Regions from separate parts of the Homo sapiens genome. Here region 1 is linked to region 2. Evidence: promoter capture Hi-C in 16 types of primary human blood cells and fetal thymus (Javierre and others, 2016). All regions are on one chromosome and are shown on one strand. Each heading gives the region's core, a stretch centred on a gene start or on the middle of the fragment in contact. The rest is flanking DNA. Distances are from core to core; before and after follow the strand shown. Region 1 overlaps YEATS2 (YEATS domain containing 2). Region 2 holds the start of B3GNT5 (UDP-GlcNAc:betaGal beta-1,3-N-acetylglucosaminyltransferase 5).

The links. Contacts are between HindIII fragments. The CHiCAGO score rates a contact against its expected background, and 5 or more counts as called.
Region 1: a fragment that was not itself captured here is called in contact with the fragment with the promoter of B3GNT5 in region 2 in 1 of 17 cell types (M2 macrophages); the score reaches 5.1 in M2 macrophages.

The regions. Positions count from the first base shown.
Region 1 is chr3:183,776,227-183,781,167 of GRCh38, forward strand. YEATS2 (YEATS domain containing 2) reads left to right here. Exons shown (of 31, transcript NM_018023.5): 19 at 1,316-1,474. Among named protein-coding and RNA genes, the nearest start is that of YEATS2-AS1, 32 kb to the right of the region's middle. The HindIII fragment of the contact is 1,591 bases long and covers 2,527-4,117 here.
Region 2 is chr3:183,251,471-183,257,043 of GRCh38, forward strand. B3GNT5 (UDP-GlcNAc:betaGal beta-1,3-N-acetylglucosaminyltransferase 5) reads left to right here and starts at 1,783. Exons shown (of 2, transcript NM_032047.5): 1 at 1,783-2,002. The region is part of intron 15 of MCF2L2 (MCF.2 cell line derived transforming sequence-like 2); the gene reads right to left. LOC124906310 (a long non-coding RNA gene) reads left to right here. Exons shown (of 3, transcript XR_007096189.1): 3 at 1,065-1,085. The HindIII fragment of the contact is 12,746 bases long and covers 1,261-5,573 here.

The DNA of each region.
Region 1 (4,941 bases), core at 2,072-4,571, 530 kb after region 2:
TAACACCTTAACCGTGTTATCTATATCTATATCTTGGCCGGGTGTGGTAACTCATGCCTGTAATCCTAGCACTTTGGGAGGCCAAGGTGGGTGGATCGCTTGAGCCCAGGAGTTCGAGACCAACCTGGGCAACATGGCAAAACCCTGTCTCTACTAAAAATACCAAAATTAGCTGGGCGTGGTGGTGCACGTCTACAGTCCCAGCTACTCCGAAGGTTGAGGTGGGAGGATTGCTTGAACCTGGGAGGTTGAGGCTGCAGTGAGCTGAGGTCGCACCACTGCACTCCACCCTGGCTGGGTGACAGAGTGAGACCCTTTCTCAAAAAAAAACTATGTGTTTTTATCTTTTTTGCTTGCTTTGAGAGAAGAGGAAGTAGAGATTGAGAAAGATTTTAGTAACTTATCCAGGATCTTCCTGCCAAGCCAATGGTAGAATTTGGGTTTAAGCCAGGCACGGTGGCTCACGCCTGTAATCCCAGCATTCTGGGAGGCCGAGGCAGGCAGATCACCTGAGGTCAGGAGTTCAAGACCAGCCTGGTCCATGGTGAAACCCTGTCTCTATTAAAAATACAAAAATCAGTCGGGTGTGGTGGTGCATGCCTGTAATCCCAGCTACTTGGAAGGCTGAGGCAGGAGAATCACTTGAACCCGGGAGGCAGAGGTTGCAGTGAGCCAAGATCACTCCATGGTACTCCAGCCTGGGGGAAAAGGGTGAGACTCTGTCTCAAAAAAAAAAAAAAAGGAAAAGAATTTGGGTTTAAACCCAGATCTTCCTGCCTTAAAGATTTCTACTATGCTAATTGCCTCCAAAATCCATGAGGTAATAAACAGTATTAATGTACAGTTGAAAAGTTGCTCATAGAAGGGAGTGATCAAAGAGATGGTATCAAGTTGTAATATTTAGAGTTAAGTTAGATTTGATTAGGAACAGGTTTCCTCCTCGTCTCCTCTTGTCACTGAAGTCTTGGCTCTTTTTGAAGGAAAGTAATAGAATTTTGGTTCCAGATGTTCTTATTGAGAAAGATGATATCAGTCTGAATGATTAAATCCAGTTTTGAGGACTAAGTTGCAAAACATGAGTTTTCAACAGGCTGCTCTGTAACTACAGTGCAAAGTTTGAGAAGTGGGGATAACTAATGGAAGTAACACTTAGAGCACAACTATTCTTTTGAATTATTTTGCCTACATTGCAGAATTAAAGGGGAGAGCGTTGTAGCTTGTAACATGGGACGTTACATGTGATTTAAGGGATCAGAACAGCCCATCTGAATTTAACAAATTACCGATTAGTTCTTTATATTTTTTTCTAACTTAGGGCACATTTTTAGTTGGCCAGCCATCACCCCAGACTTCTGGAAAACAACTCACCACTGGGTCAGTGGTCCAAGGAACACTGGGAGTCAGCACATCTTCTGCACAAGGACAACAAACGCTAAAAGTCATCTCTGGACAGAAAACCACATTGTTTACACAGGTAAATACGCCCATGCACACACCCCAAATATGGGGTGATTATGGCATTTATTTACATATTTACATGTAGTTTCTCTCTTTTCACAAAGAAATTAAGGTTACATAAGAAAATGAACAATAAGGCCAGGAGTGGTCGCTCACGTCTGTAATCCCAGCACTTTGGGAAGCCAAGGTGGGTGGATTGCCTGAGGTCAGGAGTTGGAGACCAGCCTGGCCAACATGGCCAACATAGTGAAACCCCGTCTCTACTAAAAATACAAAAATTAGCCAGGTGCAGTGGTGCGTGCCTATAGTCCCAGCTACTCGGGAGGCTAAGGCAGGAGAATCGCTTGGACCCGGGAGGCGGAGGTTGCAGTGAGCCGAGATCGTGCCATTGCACTCCATCCTGGGCGACAGAGCAAGATTCTGTCTCAAAAAAAAAAAAAAAAAGAAAAAAAAAGAAAAAATGAACAATAAAAAATATAGAAAAACAAAAATGAATCTTGAGGTTTGGGAAAATATAAGTAGAATGAGAAAATTAAGGACCCAGGTGTTATTCTCATATGCAAACACTTAAGATATCTTGCACAGTTAAAAAAATCAAGGTATAAATGTGATAGCAAAGACAAAATGAGAAGCATGGTCAGTTTTAAAGTCACACTATTTGTGAGAAAGAAAAAAACGCATATTTCTTTAGAAGAAACAAAGCTTTCTTGACACTTTGTTGTAAAATTTCTCCAGAGGGGCTTCACGTGGAAGATCCAGAATGGGCCAGTTTCAGCTATAGTATCCAGACAGTGAGTGAGTAGCTGGGATTACAGGCATGCACCACCATGCCCAGCTAATTTTGTGTTTTTAGTAGAGATGGGGTTTCTCCATGTTGGTCAGGCTGGTCTCCAGCTCGTGACCTCAGGTGATCTGCCCGCCTCGGCCTCCGAAAGTGCTGGGATTACAGGCGTGATCCGCTCCTGGCCTTGTTTAGAGTTTTTGCAAGTGATACTGGTCAGTAGTTTTCTTAGTAATTTCTGTCTGGTTTGGTATCAGGATAATACTGGCCTCATAAAATGAAGTGGAAGCTTTTCCTTTCTTTTCTCTTTATTGGAAGAGTTTATATAGAATTGGTACTGTTTCTTAACTGTTTAATTGAATATACCTGTAAAAGCCATATTAGCCTGGAGTTTTCCTAATTGAGAAGGTTTTTATATTACTGTTTTAAACTACAGTTTCAGTTTATTTACTAGATACGGGACTGTTCAGGTTGTTTATTTCTTTTCTTTTTATATATATTTTTTGAGACAGAGTCTTTATCTGTTGCCCAGGCTCCTGGGTTCAAGCAGTTCGCCTGCCTCATCCTCACGAGTAGCTGCGATTACAGGAGTCCACCACCACGCCCAGCTAATTTTTGTATTTTTAATAGAGACAGGGTTTCACCATGTTGGTCAGGCTGGTCTCGAACTCCTGACCTCGTGGTCTGCCCGCCTCGGCCTCCGAAAGTTCTGGGATTACAGGCACAAGCCACCACGCCCAGCCCGTTTTCATTCTTGCTTTTGGTAATTATGTGTCCTCTTTTTATTGATCAGTCTAGCTAGAGGTTTATCAGTTGTATTGATCTTTTCAAATTACCAGCATTTGGTGTCCTCTTTTGTTCTTTTTTGTCGAATGTCCTTACCCATGTTAAACAGATACAAGGCCCTGCAGTTCACTGTAGACAGTTCTTTTAAATCTTCCTTAGATTTCACACCTGCTTGTGTTGCAGCAGTGCACAGGTGAGACAGTTCCTGTTGCCCCTCCCTCCTTGCAGGGACTGGCTATCTTTAATCTTCAGGTTACTTGGCTACTTTGAGATTTCAGCCCTCCAATATGTTTCAAAAAAATAAGATTTTGTAGTGTATTCAGCCTTTTCTTGTTAGGGTAGGAGCAACCGTGCTTTATAGCCCTCTGTTTCCTATGTGGAAGCAAAAGTCCCTGACCAACGGATTTTAACTTGACAGAGAAAACTTTATTTTTATTTATTTATTTATTTTTTATATATTTTTTTGAGACACAGCCTTGCTCTGTCGCCAGGCTGGAGTGCAGTGGCACGATCTCGGCTCACTGCAGCCTCCGCCTCCTGGGTTCAAGCAATTCTCCTGCCTCAGCCTCCCGAGTAGCTGGGATTACAGGTGCCCGCCACCATGTCCAGCTAATTTTTGTATTTTTACTAGAGACGGGGTTTCACCACGTTGGTCAGGATGGTCTCGATCTCTTGACCTCGTGATCTGCCCGCCTCGGCCTCCCAATGAACTGAGATTACAGGCGTGAGCCACCGCACCTGGCCTTTACTTTTTTTTTTTTTTTTTTTAATTTTTTATCTTTCTGACTCAAGATCTAACAGAGAAAACTTTAAATTGCTGTGGTTTCAGATTGCATAATACAACTAAACTTGAAGAAACTTCCACTTGTTGAGCTTTAGTGTAGCATCAGAGAAGAGTAACAACAGTATTTGAAAGAGCTGTTAAAATACTCTTCCCTTTTCCAACTACATATGTGGATATATCTCACACCAACACAGCAAGCACCACAGGAAGGAGGAAGCGGGGGCGCAGGGCATGGAGAACACTGGAAACTGAATAGAACTGGCTGCTCTTGCCACAGTACCCAACACATCACCCTTCTGGTTGCCTCAAGCTTCTGCTATCTCCAGATGTGGAGCTTATCTAGCGTTTTTCCACGCTTCTGTGGCAGATTCTCCTGGCGTGTCCCACGTAAGGCTTTTATCACTTGGCGAGGCTTTCTTCTGCAGCCTTTTGTCTGTTTTTCGTAGTTGCTTGTCCACTATTGGGCTCCTCAACTAGTTTTTGAACACAACCAGTAGAATGCATTTATTTATTTATGCCTTTTCTGGTTTTTTTGGATTTGGCGCTGAGAGGAGTATTGCTGTCCACAATGAAGATAAAATGGCACAAATGTTTATGCAGTGAACTCTGGCAGCAAAATACATAAAGTGCAAAGACTATTAGGAATATGAGGAGAATTTGATAAAACTGCAGTCACAGAGAAGAATTTTAACATGTCTCTCAGCATTTAGCTAATCAAGTGGATAAATCTTTTTTATTATAAAGGATTTGTATTGGAATAACAGTACTAACAGGCTTAATTCTGTATCATTGAGACACAGAATACACATTTTGCTTGTATATCTGTGGAACATTAACAAATTGATTATATACTTGGCCACAAAGAGAATCTCTTAGCATATTTCAAAAGTAGCATCCAATGTGCTTCATTCTGTTACTCAATAAAAAAGTCAAATCAATAACAACCAAAAAACTTGACAATTAAAATACTCTTCTAAATTCTTGGGTTAAAAAAATCCAAATAAATTACGGATGATTTAGCTGTTAATACAAATGACAATTTTATTAGGGTTCTCCAGAGAAACAGAACAAATATAATATATATAGATATTAAGAGGAAATTTATTATGAGAATTGGCTCCTGTGATTATGG
Region 2 (5,573 bases), core at 533-3,032:
TCTGTGCCTTATCTATCCCTGCCGAGTCTAACATGCAGATTTTGGTCATTCCAAAGTCATGTATAGATCTAATCACAGGGCTCTCTGCTTACCAGCTGCTACTTGGATAAGGAAAGCATGCCAACACGGTCCTCCTTCTTCATGCTGGCCAAGTCAGCATCATTATTATTACCTAAGTTTATTTCTAACACATCTCAATATCTTCATGCACTCCCTCTTGATAAAAGTAACTGAGCATAGCACCATCAATACCATCAAATCTGTCATTCTCTTCCCCTCTCTCTGGGTGGGACAGGAAGCCAGGCTGCTCTAGGAAATCTTCCCTAACAAGCAAAGGGGACTTGCCTGTCCTCTCGCATGTGTGATCTGAGCTTGTGTGGATCCCAGAGTGGGCATTCTGGACTACTTGACCTTGCCTATCTCTCCTTCACACCCTCTCATCTCTCCCTCCTACCACCAAAAAACTTGCATCGTATTTCCAATCTCCAGACATACTTTTGAAACCATTTATCTATCTGGTGTGTTTATCTGTATCTAGTATGATGTGAATATGTGATTTGTATGTGTGTCTACCACTGTTTTGGTCAGTTTGTATTTCTCGTGGGTACAGTTCTATGTGCTCATGTATGTGGAACATATGTATACTGACACATGGACCTAGCTCCAAATGATCTGAAAGGAATATAATTGTAATTGAATATTTGCACAGATATACAACATACACATGTGATGGCTGGGGGAAATGCATGTGGGATTTCAGTCAGCATTTTATTAGAGAAGGTATGTCATTAGTGCTGTATTAACAATGAATCAGCTTATTTGTGGGTCACTGTCAATGACTCCTTTGCAAATCACACATGTAAATATTTCTGTCTGTGGTCTGATGAACATGCAGTGCCACAGTCTGGGAGATGCTGAGCCATGCCCTGTGTAGGCAGCATATGAAAAGAACTGCATGATTTAAAAGATGCTGACCAGCTTAAGGAAAGCAATTTAAAAACTTCCTAAAAATCTAGTTTGAATGAACAACAGTTTTCATTTTGTGTGTGTGTTTTTTCTTTTAGAGATGGGGTCTTGCTATGTTGGCCACGCTGGTCTCTAACTCCTGGGATCAAGCAATCCTCCTGCGGCTCAGCCTCCCAAAGTGATGGGATTACAGGTGTGAGCCACCGTGTCTGCTGGCCCCACTGTTTTAAACCCTGATTCGACAATCATACATTTAACTCATTACCTGTCTTGTTCCTTTTACGACAAACTCAAAGCTTTTATTTTACTAAAGTATTTGGGTTAATCTTTTGCTTTTCTGTCATGTTCTGAAATATGTACAATAACAGAATCGCTCAAAATATTATCTCCGTTAAATGTTTTGTGGCTTTAGGGAGAGGTCTAACAACATGCGGGAAACAAGAAATCAAGCGCATCCAGGATTCATTTATAATCTCTCTCGTTGAGTAGAAGTCCGCATCTCTCGATATTGTCTGGTTACCTGCATGAAGTATTCTAAAGGAGGAAAATAGCTCAAAGAGGACATTCATGTGCACTCTGGCTTCCAGTTGGCCATTTGAGTAAGTGATCGCAATTAACTGACGAGCGGCAGGGAAACACTTCCTGGAATTCTCATCTACAGACAAGAACAAACTGGGGCGGGGCCCATCACCTTCACCTACGCGCCGGGAGGGTGGCGGCTGGCGGGCGGGGCCGGGCTCGGGCCGTGACGCCGAGAGTGCGGGGCGCGCGGCTGGGAGCCTCGCGCCCCCGCCCGGGCCCGCCCCCATCCCGCCCGCATACAGCCCGCATCCCGCCGGGGAAGCGAGCCCAGTCCAGCGCTGCCCGTCCAGTCCTCGCCCAAGATTTAAAGCCCGCAAGTTTTGTTCTTGAGACCAGCGACTTTAGCTCCGATGCGGGAAGGAAAGCCGACCTCCGATTTGGACATTTAAAGAGCTGGGCTTGAACTTCGTGAGTTTCGCTCTAAACTGCCCTTGAAATGAAGCTGGACTTGGAGGTAAAGTCACTGGGAAGCTGGCCTGGGGCGGGGTTTCCCCCTCTTCTCGTATTTTAGAAACGGACAGCGGCAGTGCAGCCCTAGTTTGCTGTAAGTTTCCTTACTTTGTTACTGAGGCCCCCAGAGCTCCACGCATAAGTGGTGTGACCAGAAACCTTTTAACAAGACCCGCCTGAGCCTGCGTTAGAGCTCCCGCTCGGAAAGTAAAAGACCATCCTAATCCGCGGCGCTGCGGAACCGGTGTCCCGTGTGGGAGGAACCGCGGCGTTCCCTGGGCGTAGGGCCCGCGAGGCCAGCACAGTCCGCCTCTTGGCGGAGCGCCCTGGGCCGGTGGTTCCGCGCGGAGTTAGTCTGTGGTCAGTTACGTGGTGAAAACACGGCTGTGCCGCGGCCGCATCTTTCCGCGGCCGAGGCCTCTCTGGGTGGGAGTGTTGGCTTCCTTTCCGGATCGCTAAATGGGGAAAGTTCTGGCCGCTCGGCGGGATACGTCTCCAGGCCACGGATGGTTCGTTCTCCGTGCCGCGGCCCCGAGCTGGGCTCCCTGGGTCTCCAGCGCGGGCTCCCGGCATTGGGGGCTGCGGGCCGGCCCCTCCGCCCCGCCCCCGCCCCGCCGCGCCTCCTCGGCCGAGCGGCTCGCGGTCTCCGGCGCGGGAGGCTCCGAGTCTGCCCACTCCGGGCCGAGCGAGGTCTCTGGAGGAGAAGAGTGGCGAGGAGGTGAGGGCACGCCGGCCCTCGCCCGGCGGGTGGCGCCAGGACTTCAGGTGGGAACGCGCGCTTGGGCCGGGGGCGCGTGGCTGGCGTGGACACCGGATCGGGGCCCGCCGCCCTGGCCCGGACCGCGCACGGCCCAGCGCCGGGAAGTCGGGAAGCCGGGGAGGCCTCTCCCACCGCGGGCCCCGGCAGCCCGCCCTCTGAAAGCGCGGCGGAGAAGGAGGCTCGTCCCCTCCCCGGAACGCCTTTGTTCCCTCCGGCCTGCCCGCGCGGGTGGCCAGCGGCTGGGACCCAGGCCGGGCCGCCGCCCAGGTGCGGCAGGTAGGCTCGGGGGCCGGGCAGCTCCGGTTGGGGCGGCTTCCCGGGGCCTGCGGGTCCCCGTCCCTGAGGAGCTCCGGCTCCTCGGTGGCGGGACAGGCCCGTGCGCGGGAGCCGCGAGGCGAACGCCGCGCCCACCAATTCGGTTGCCGGCCGGGGGCCCCAGGCTTGCGGCCACCCGCCTCCGGCTGGAGGGCTGAATTCGAGTCGAAAGCCCGTGTCGGGCTGGAAAGAAGAAACCGCCAACCTGAGAACGCTTTCGGCGAGTTACTGGCGGGGGAAATGGGGACAGGGAAGTGGGCAGGCGGGGAGACTGCAGCCGCAGATCTCCCTGGCGGGGAGGTCGTGGCCACTCTTTCCTTTGACTCTGCCTCATTTCATTTTGAATCCTGATGTGACAGAGGCAATTGCTTGCTTGGATACCATATAGGTAAAAGTAACAGTTTTCAACTCGACTCTTGACTACACCCTGTACATTCTTGGCCGGTGTTGGTTTTCTTAGGTTATGGATCATGTTAAAGGTACACCGATGTGGTAACCGCACAGTGGCCGATGGTGGCCTGAGGCTCATATTTATGGTAATTATCTGATGAAAGTACATCCATCAGAATTGGATTTGTGCGTCTGTGCCTTTATTTTGGGAAACCTTGCCTGTTCCCTGTGGGGGATGGGAGAGGAATGTGAAAAGCCGAAGTTGACCCAGAAAAGGATGATTGAAGGTAGTTGTATTAAGTGGTGGCACCGAAATGATTCCACCCTGAACTTTCTGAAAGGGTGATTAGTGATCAGCAGCAGACGTTATAACTTTCTCAAAATAAATTTATGGTAGATTTTCTATCTGGTCACAAGTGAGGAGGTGAAAGCTGCTTTTTGGGGCCAACTCTTTGCTTTTAAAGCAAGCTAAACGCAATACCAGAAAGGTTTCCATTCTGTACTTAACCTGCTTGTCCTTCTCACTCTTCCTTATCCTCCCGCACACGCTCTGAGCATTGACTGAGCACTCTGAGGAGGAGGCTGACTCAGGCTGACCCTTCCCGGCCCTGCAAGGCTCTAAGGTAGAACCAGTGTTATCACAGGAAAGGCCCAAGCCAAAGCTCAGAGCAGCTGTTCCTGAGAAAGTGGGAGATGAGGATGAGTAGGAGGTAGAGATGCTTATAACTGCTCTGCCCAGAGAAAACTCAGAAGGTGCAGAAGAGTTTTCAAAATAAAGTGCAGGCCCCATCAAGTAAAAAATGAAACATTGTATTTCATTAAAATGGTGATCAGTTTTCTCTTTTCATAAAAGACATTCAAATGGTGAGATTGTAAAAAAAAAAAAAAAGAAAAAGAAAACTTTCTAATTCTCAAAAATAGAACAGCTTGAATAATAACTCATGGGTTTTGAAATGGGTCATCTTTTAAAATGGGTCACTTTGGCTAGAATCATTGCACTTGGTGACTTTCACATTGTAAAGGGTCCAGTTCTTTCTGAGGCCCAATTGCACTAGAATCTGCATTTCAGAACACAGGAGGTATCAGGAAGAAACTGGGAGAAATTCAGAGGGAAATTGTCTCTTCTCAGAGTAACAAAATGTCCCCTATTCAGGGGGAATTTTATATATGCTGAAGTAAATAGATCTCAGCTTTGAATTTTTATAATACATTATGCCTTTTCTGAAATATTTCCATAGCCATTATTTTAATGCATTGTTAGAATAACCTTGTAAGGAGAGGAATTCATTGTATCTGTGTTCCAGAAACTGAGGCACAGTAAATTACAAGAGCTCTGCCCTTTGATATCGAATCTCTGTGAGCGAAGATGTAACCAGAACAGTGTAAATCTAGAATTACTTTCCTTACGGTATGCAATATCTAATTATTATGTATTAGTTTACATATATATAGGGGATGTAAGAATCTTTATATTTAAAGGATAAGAAACTTGATCAGGTGAGATACAAGATTTGAATAAAAAAGCGATTTTTTAGAAACATTTTAATTCTACAAATTCAGTTGCTGGCTTTGATATGTAACTTATTCAGATTTCTCTTCCATAGAAGGCTTTAACACTAGAAGCCAGTTCTCTACAAAAGAGAATGTTCTACCAAGTGTGTAGGCAACAAAGCCCAAAAGTTCAAGTTCAAAATACTGTTCTACAGCCTAAGATCCACCTAATATTTCAGATTTGACTCTTTTGCTCCTTTCCTATAACTTCCTATAACTTTTTCATAGTGCTCTAAGCAAAGTAAGTTCAAGGATGGACTCACCTCAAGTTTCCTTCTCTTACTTTAGAGGACCATATAATCTTATACCTGTGTCATCCTAATTGAAATGTATTTTAAGTGCTTGTGGGAACAAGAATAACGGAAGACCGTTATTCCATTAATGGAATAATGGGGAACATGAGAAGGACCATATTCAGTCAATTAGGGATGATACTTCTGCCTCAACAGTATTTGCGATGTGTTAAATGGCCCTTAGCCATCAGATCAGTATTTTTAAAAACTCCTACCTAATTAATGTTTTTTGAGAAGAAGCATATTATGAGTATAGCTCAGTATTC